Linked DNA regions of Homo sapiens: region 1 is linked to region 2. Evidence: promoter capture Hi-C in human tissues and cell types (Jung and others, 2019). All regions are on one chromosome and are shown on one strand. Each heading gives the region's core, a stretch centred on a gene start or on the middle of the fragment in contact. The rest is flanking DNA. Distances are from core to core; before and after follow the strand shown. Region 1 has its middle 57 kb from the start of TBCA. Region 2 holds the start of OTP (orthopedia homeobox).

Evidence for each region. The method cuts DNA at HindIII sites, captures the fragments that hold promoters and counts their contacts. A contact is called where the count stands out against the background at its distance.
Region 1: a fragment that was not itself captured here is called in contact with the fragment with the promoter of OTP in region 2 in 2 of the 25 tissues and cell types used here (H1 embryonic stem cells and pancreas).

What each region holds. Positions count from the first base shown.
Region 1 is chr5:77,831,218-77,834,482 of GRCh38, reverse strand. No RefSeq gene overlaps it. Among named protein-coding and RNA genes, the nearest start is that of TBCA, 57 kb to the right of the region's middle. The HindIII fragment of the contact is 3,889 bases long and covers 1-3,265 here.
Region 2 is chr5:77,637,300-77,640,565 of GRCh38, reverse strand. OTP (orthopedia homeobox) reads left to right here and starts at 1,853. Exons shown (of 3, transcript NM_032109.3): 1 at 1,853-2,053. The coding sequence starts at 2,017. RefSeq lists enhancers at 756-1,310, 1,311-1,867. The HindIII fragment of the contact is 12,469 bases long and covers 360-3,266 here.

The DNA of each region.
Region 1 (3,265 bases), core at 234-2,733, 190 kb before region 2:
CGAAACGGGGTTTCACCATATTGGTCAGGCTGAGTCTCGAGCCCCTGACCTTGTGATCCACCTGCCTCGGCCTCCCAAAGTGTTGGGATTACAGGCGTGAGCCACCACGCCTGGCCAGGATTCTTACTTAAAAGATTGTAAATATCTCCAGGGTTGACTTAGAAAAATTCACTAACATAGGTACTTGCTGCATACAATGTGTGCAAAGAGGTGAATTCTTGGTAAACACATGTGTTTGGATTTCCCACTTTCAGGCCCCTGTGTTCTTGGTGAATATAAAAACAGACCCCGCCTTTCTAAACCATGAATCGGACACCTAAGAGGACCACAAAAAGAAAGATCTCAGGTGTCCTCAGAGTTCATTCTTTTTGTCTTTAGTATAGGCAGCTCTACCATTTAATTGCATCAATTTCTAAAAGAAATGTAACAAGATTTTAAGTGTGTGTTCTAGTTGATGCTTAAGCTGAAAGGAAATGAAGTACTCACAAATGTTATATAATATAAGCCAAAGGGTTTTCACAGTTAATTGAAACATCTGAGTAGCATGAAGATTACCTGTGTTTTATGTCTGCCACTGATGAGAAAACGAGAGATTGGTGTGATGTACTCATTGGTTTGTGAATATAAAGGTGTACGGAGAGTGTCACAAATCACCTTGATGTCCCTGAGAAGGAGATTTTACCTCTGAAGCCCTGATTAATAAAAAAAGATATTTAGCTCAATAGCTCTTGGTTGCCTATGCATCTGTGTGTTCTGACACACAGCAGGCCCCTTCATTTCAGGGCTGGAATAACTTACACTCATGAAATCAGCTCAGGATTCATTGTCTTTAGATTAGTATATGTAAAACATCTCAGTTGGAGGCAGTAAAGAGTCAAAACAAATCACACTACACCTGGTTTGAAGATCTGTTCTCATTTGCAAAGGTTATATGAATTTGATATAAGAATACCAGATCATTTTTCCCTGAGCACAAAATTTGTTTATGGCCTGTCCAGAAAAGAAGTGGCAAAGACAGAGAGTTAGATATATTCATCGTCTGCTGTGTGCATGCCTGAGGTCAGCCTGATTTCTGCTGAACTCCAGGTTTTTTTTCTTTTCTGAAGGTGGGGAAGCTTTGGGAGGGAGTGGTCAGGGTGGTGAGCAGCAGGAACAAGAAGACTTGAGCTAAAAGCCCTACTGGACTTGTCATATCCACTTGCACTAGCATACACATAGCTAAAGAACAGACTAGAAGGAATTCAAAGGAACAAATACGCAGATCGAACTTCAATGTTCCCTGTCAGGCATAACATCCTGTGTTGTCTTCAGTAAGGGAAATGGAAGGGGAAGCTCCTCTAGGTTAAAAGGACCAAACCACCACCACCACCAGACAATTACACTGCCCGGGGCTCAGAGTGATTTTTGACTGTTTGTGACTGCATAGCTGGTTGGGAGTGGAGCCAGTTTCCCAGTTCAGTAACTTTTCTTCTACACCACAAAGAATGTTTCCCAGAAAGCTTATTTCCACAGGTAGTTAGCAAAACAAGTGTTACAAAAAGGGGTGATATGGTCCAATAAGGTTAGGAAGCAGACGTTTAAATCCATTCTTTTATTTAAACAATGTTAAGCAGTTTTCTTAGGGGCAGGGCTCCTCAGAGTCCTCATTTGCCGTTGTTGATTGTGACTTACTGATATAGGGTGCAGTGTTCCCAGGCGTGCTTGATGACAGAATCTTTTTCTGTTTTTTGGATCATGGAGGCTCTTTCAGGTTTAGTGATCACAAGGCACCCTTTGGACAAACTTTGTCTACATCAAGGTGATCCTGCAGTGACTGCTTATGTGCTTATTGGTCGAGAGAAGACCAATTCACAGTGTGATGAGGCACTGAAGGGTGAGTCAGGCTCTCAGACCTGCAGGAGCCTTCTCTGCTGAATGAGGTAGTTGGTCTAGAGGAGTGGTTCTCAATTAGTGAAGCAGTTTTATCACACCTGCTGGCAGTGGGACTAGAGGCGAGGAGGGAGCATGCGTGGTAGGCAAAGCTTTCTCCCTCCCCAGTGAAGAATGACTGATTTAGATGTCCCTCCCCATGGTACCTTTATTGACCTAATAACATCGTACATGCATATATTATTTGACTCAGCAATTCTTCTTACAGGAATTTTTCTTACTGGCAAAGTTACATTTTTAAAATACACATAGTGATATTCATCGAAGCAGTATTGGTATTATATTAACAAGAGATCAGAAATGGCTAAATATCTACCAAAGGAAAATATGTAGCCATTACAAAGAATAGAACTACCTCCCTCTGTATGATTAAATGAGAAAAGCAAAGCATGGACACTATAGAGCAGGCAACCTTGGAATAAAACTATATTATACACACTATCAATGTAAGAAATATATTTAAAAGCATATATATAAAGCATATGTTTGTTTATATATTGAATATCTCTGGGAAAATACGCAGAAAGCGTAACAGTTGTTATACTGGAGTGTCTTGGGGACAGAGTTGCCAAAGAGACTTATTTTATACTGTGTACCCTTTTGCACTGTTTGAATTTTTTTCCATATGCAAGGTAGCTGTTCCCAGTTCCTTTTCCCCCCATAAATGTATGCCAATCTTCATATCAACAGATGGAGTCTCTTTCTCCTGCTTTTGAATCTGGGCTGATTTTGTGACACACATTGGTGGGGAAGTGTCCATGAGGTAGGTCCACCCCTAGCCTTTGGGAGAAATGGCAGCTTCTGCTTCTGCCGCCGCTTCCATTAGAAGCCAGCTAACCTCAACCTTCAGGTAAGAAGTTCAATTGCCCTAAGAGCACTATGCTATGAAGAAGCCAATCTAGCCACGTAGAAAAGCCGCATGGAGGGAGAGATGCCCAGCCAGCCCCAAGCTGTTCTAGCCATCCCTGTTGAGGCACCCAATAGGCAAGTAAAGAAGCCATCTCAGACATTTCAGCCCCAGCAGCCAACACATGGAGCAGAAGAATCATCCCGGTGAGCCTGTCTCAGATTGCAGAACTGTAAAAAAAAATACATTGTTGTTTTAAATCAGTAAGTTTTGGAGTGGTTTACTAAGCAGCAAGAGATAAAAAATAATTACCTATTCAACATAAATATGTAAATTAACTTAAAAAGTGTTAATTCATATAATTTTGTATAAATGTAGGATTAGAGAGCAATTTAATAGGAGGATAAAGGAAGGGAGCTACAGGTGACTGCAGTGAGGCACCAGAGGGTATCACTTGGGGGAAAAGAGTGAACCTAGTGGGGAGTATAG
Region 2 (3,266 bases), core at 604-3,103:
CGCCGCGAGCCTGAGTCCACGACCCCGGCGCCCAGTCCCACATAGGCCGCGTTGGTAGCAGCTGCAGCAGCCGCTGAAACCCAGTCCGGCCCGGAGCTTCCCGGGAAGCGGTCTCCGCAGCTCAGAAGAAACTGGTGTGGCCAATACCCTGCATTCACACGTGTGTGCATATGTGTGCGCGCGCACGTGTGTGTGCAGGAGAGGAGGCGAACGGGCTGCAGGAGGGAAGGAGGAAACAAAACTGCCCGAGAGTTCGCTTTGCCGCCTCCTTTGTCTCCTTGCTCGGTCCCTGTCACACATACAGCTGAGGACACACACACACACACACACACACACACACACACACACAATTCCTCTCGCATCTGCTCTCAGCCAGCATTTTCAATGTTTTGTCTAAGTCAATTGGACGGCGAACAAAAAAAGCCATTTGCTCAGTATTATTTAAAACAGACTTCATTGGGCCACCCTTTTGTGGAAGGTTTATTTGCACTAAATGAATAATCTTAATTGCATCACTCTCGAATTAAAAATCAATGTTAATCAAGTTGGGAGTAGTAAATATCAGTTTTCATTGTGACTGGGTAGAGGGCATTTTTCTTGTGTTGCAAATAAAAATACAAGTCAAATAACTTTAAAAGGGCATTATGTTCTGCTACAAATACAATTGAAACGGATTGTTTAGGAGCAGATCAGAAATGGTACAGAATTTTGCACTTAATTTCCTCAGTTATCATTTACAATAAGAACCTCTAGGCTTGACAGCCAAGTCTAAACAGTAGTAAATTAGTACAAATTTATACTGATTTTACTCTAATAATCGTAATAAAAGCTTATAGATTTGGCACTAATTACATAAATGCCTAATGATCTTGAAAATTACTCTGGTTAGAAATATATTACTAATCTAAACTTTGTTGTTGGCTGGCTCTGAAAAATCAGAACATTAGAAATGGTTCGCTTCACTTGTGCAAAGCACTTTAAATTGTTCAAGTAGTTTAACATATTCAAGAGGAAAATAAAGAGCATTTAACTTTATTTACAGCCTTAAGTGGAGTTGGGAGCCGAGCTGAACTTAGAAACTTTGACCAAAAGAGCGAGTTAGGGGCGAGGATGCGGGCGTGGGCCAAGCGGAAGAGCAGGAGCCGGGAAGAAGCCCGGTGAGAAGAGTGCAGAGCGCTCGAACCCACACTCCGCGAGGGTCCCCAAAGCAGACAGCGGGCGCTGGCGGTGCCAGGGAAGCCGACTCCTCTTTGCGCTCTAGGCCCACTGTGGGGTTGGGGCTCGTATAGACCCCAGGGCACAGCCAGGGCGCCTGGACCCTAGGCGCAGGCCTACTGAGCCGCGGCGAAGTCCAGGCGTTGTCTGAAGGCCGCGGTGTGCCCTCGTCGCGCCCTGGGCTGGCGGGCCAATATGAGCGGCAGGCCCAGAGAGCGCAGGTGGGGGCGACCCTCAGGTCACGCCAGGGTCATGGCCCGCTCTGACCCCTGCTCTGCCCCTGCCCTAGGAAGATGTTAGCTCAGAGGCACAGAGCTACGCCTTCGAAGCGCGCAGCGCCGGCCAAGGGGAAGGAAAGGGGAGCCTGGAGAAAATCGCAGGGAAGAACTAGAGGGAGCCGGGCCCAGAAGCTCAGGGCGAGGCCGAGGCGGCTGAGGCTGCTTTAGCTCCTGCTCCGGGCTGGAGCTGCCAGGGCTGCCGCCGCCGCCTCCTTCAGGCGGGCGCAGGCGAGCGGGCGGGCGGAGTGGGGGACTCTCCGGGCGCTGACATTTGCAGGCTGCCCTCCTGATTGGTCCCCTCGCCGAGCTGCTCACGGGTTCATTCAACTGTTAAGCACCTCCCCGTCTCTCTAAAGGACATTATAATGCAAGAAGCCCCCTTTTTAACCACAAACCGAATTTTCTTTCATTTAGGTGATCTATATATATCTATATCGTATAGCTTATAGCTTATATCTATTTTAAATAACTTAAAGCCGCTAAAATTTGGGGGGGAACAGCTTTCGCCCTGGAGCGGTGCGCGATGCTGTCTCATGCCGACCTCCTGGACGCCAGGCTAGGTGAGTGCGCGCCTCTCGCCCGGGCAGCCAGGAGAAGCCGGGGCAGGAAATTGTCAATTTGTTCCTTATTTTACCTTAATGCGACCTAAATGGACTAATTTCTTTAAAAGTAATTGTGCTGCATTAAAGTTTAATTTGATTTAACATCGCCTTTAAAAAAAAATCTATGGAATATGTAGATCCAAGAAAGGAGTTGGGGAATGTTGTTACTTTTTGTTTTTCTTATTTTTCTCTTCCCCCCTCCCCCGCCTTTTTTTTTTTTTCGAAAGGCGATATACCCCGTGATAATTTGTTAGGAGGTGTTTCTCTCTCTTTTTTCCCTCTCCTGTTTGTTTTGATTTGGGATTTCTTTCTCCTTCCCTCCCCCCGTTTCTCTCTCCCCACCATCTTCTTCTCTCCTCCTTTTCTAAGTGTGGTGTAATTTGTAAAAAATCTGGCATAAAGGAGAAGCTGCTGCCATCAAGGCGGATTTGCTAAGTGTGCTGGTTGAGAAGGAGAGAAGCCAAATTCAACCTCACAGTCATCCCCCCCTCTTCTGCAAGGGACTCAGCGTTGCCAATGGCTGTGAGGAATGCGCCTTTTATTTCTCTGGAAAGAAAAGTTGAAATCTCTAAAGTTTGATTCACGGTTGTCCATAGAGTTCACTCGAGTTTCCTTAATGCTATCTGGGTTGCTGAGCTCTGGGTTTCCGGATTGGGAATCTTCGGTGATGGATGTGACTCCATTTTCCAAACACTTTCTCTGATTTGAGGGGGAGGCGGAGCTGATTTGGGTTGATTTCGGGGGGTGAAAGCTTGGAGGCTTATTCATCTTCCGAAAGTAAGAGGGAATCGGCTGAGGGCCGGAGGTACAGTTCGTCAGGCTGCCGAAGCGCAGGTGCCGCAGCAACCGAGGAATTGTTTAATTTTCTTTCTGCCCCCCGCACCCCTGTGTCCAAAGATTTGCTCTCGATTTCCTGGGGCGCCTGGGGTACGGTTTATGGAAGGGATTCAGAGGCATGTTTTATTGCCGGGACTGGGAGTGTTTTATTGTGGGAGAGACGAAAGCTTGTGCTGTTTACTACGGGAGCCGGCTGCGGCGAGGGCAAGGGGCCGGGAGATATTATTCCAACCCGGCTGTCCAAATTCTGGGGAACCCAGCTGAATACCCTGGGAGTTTCTTCCTTAGGACAAGCGCGGGTGCGGAGGGGGCCGAGGACGGGTTGAAGGAAGGC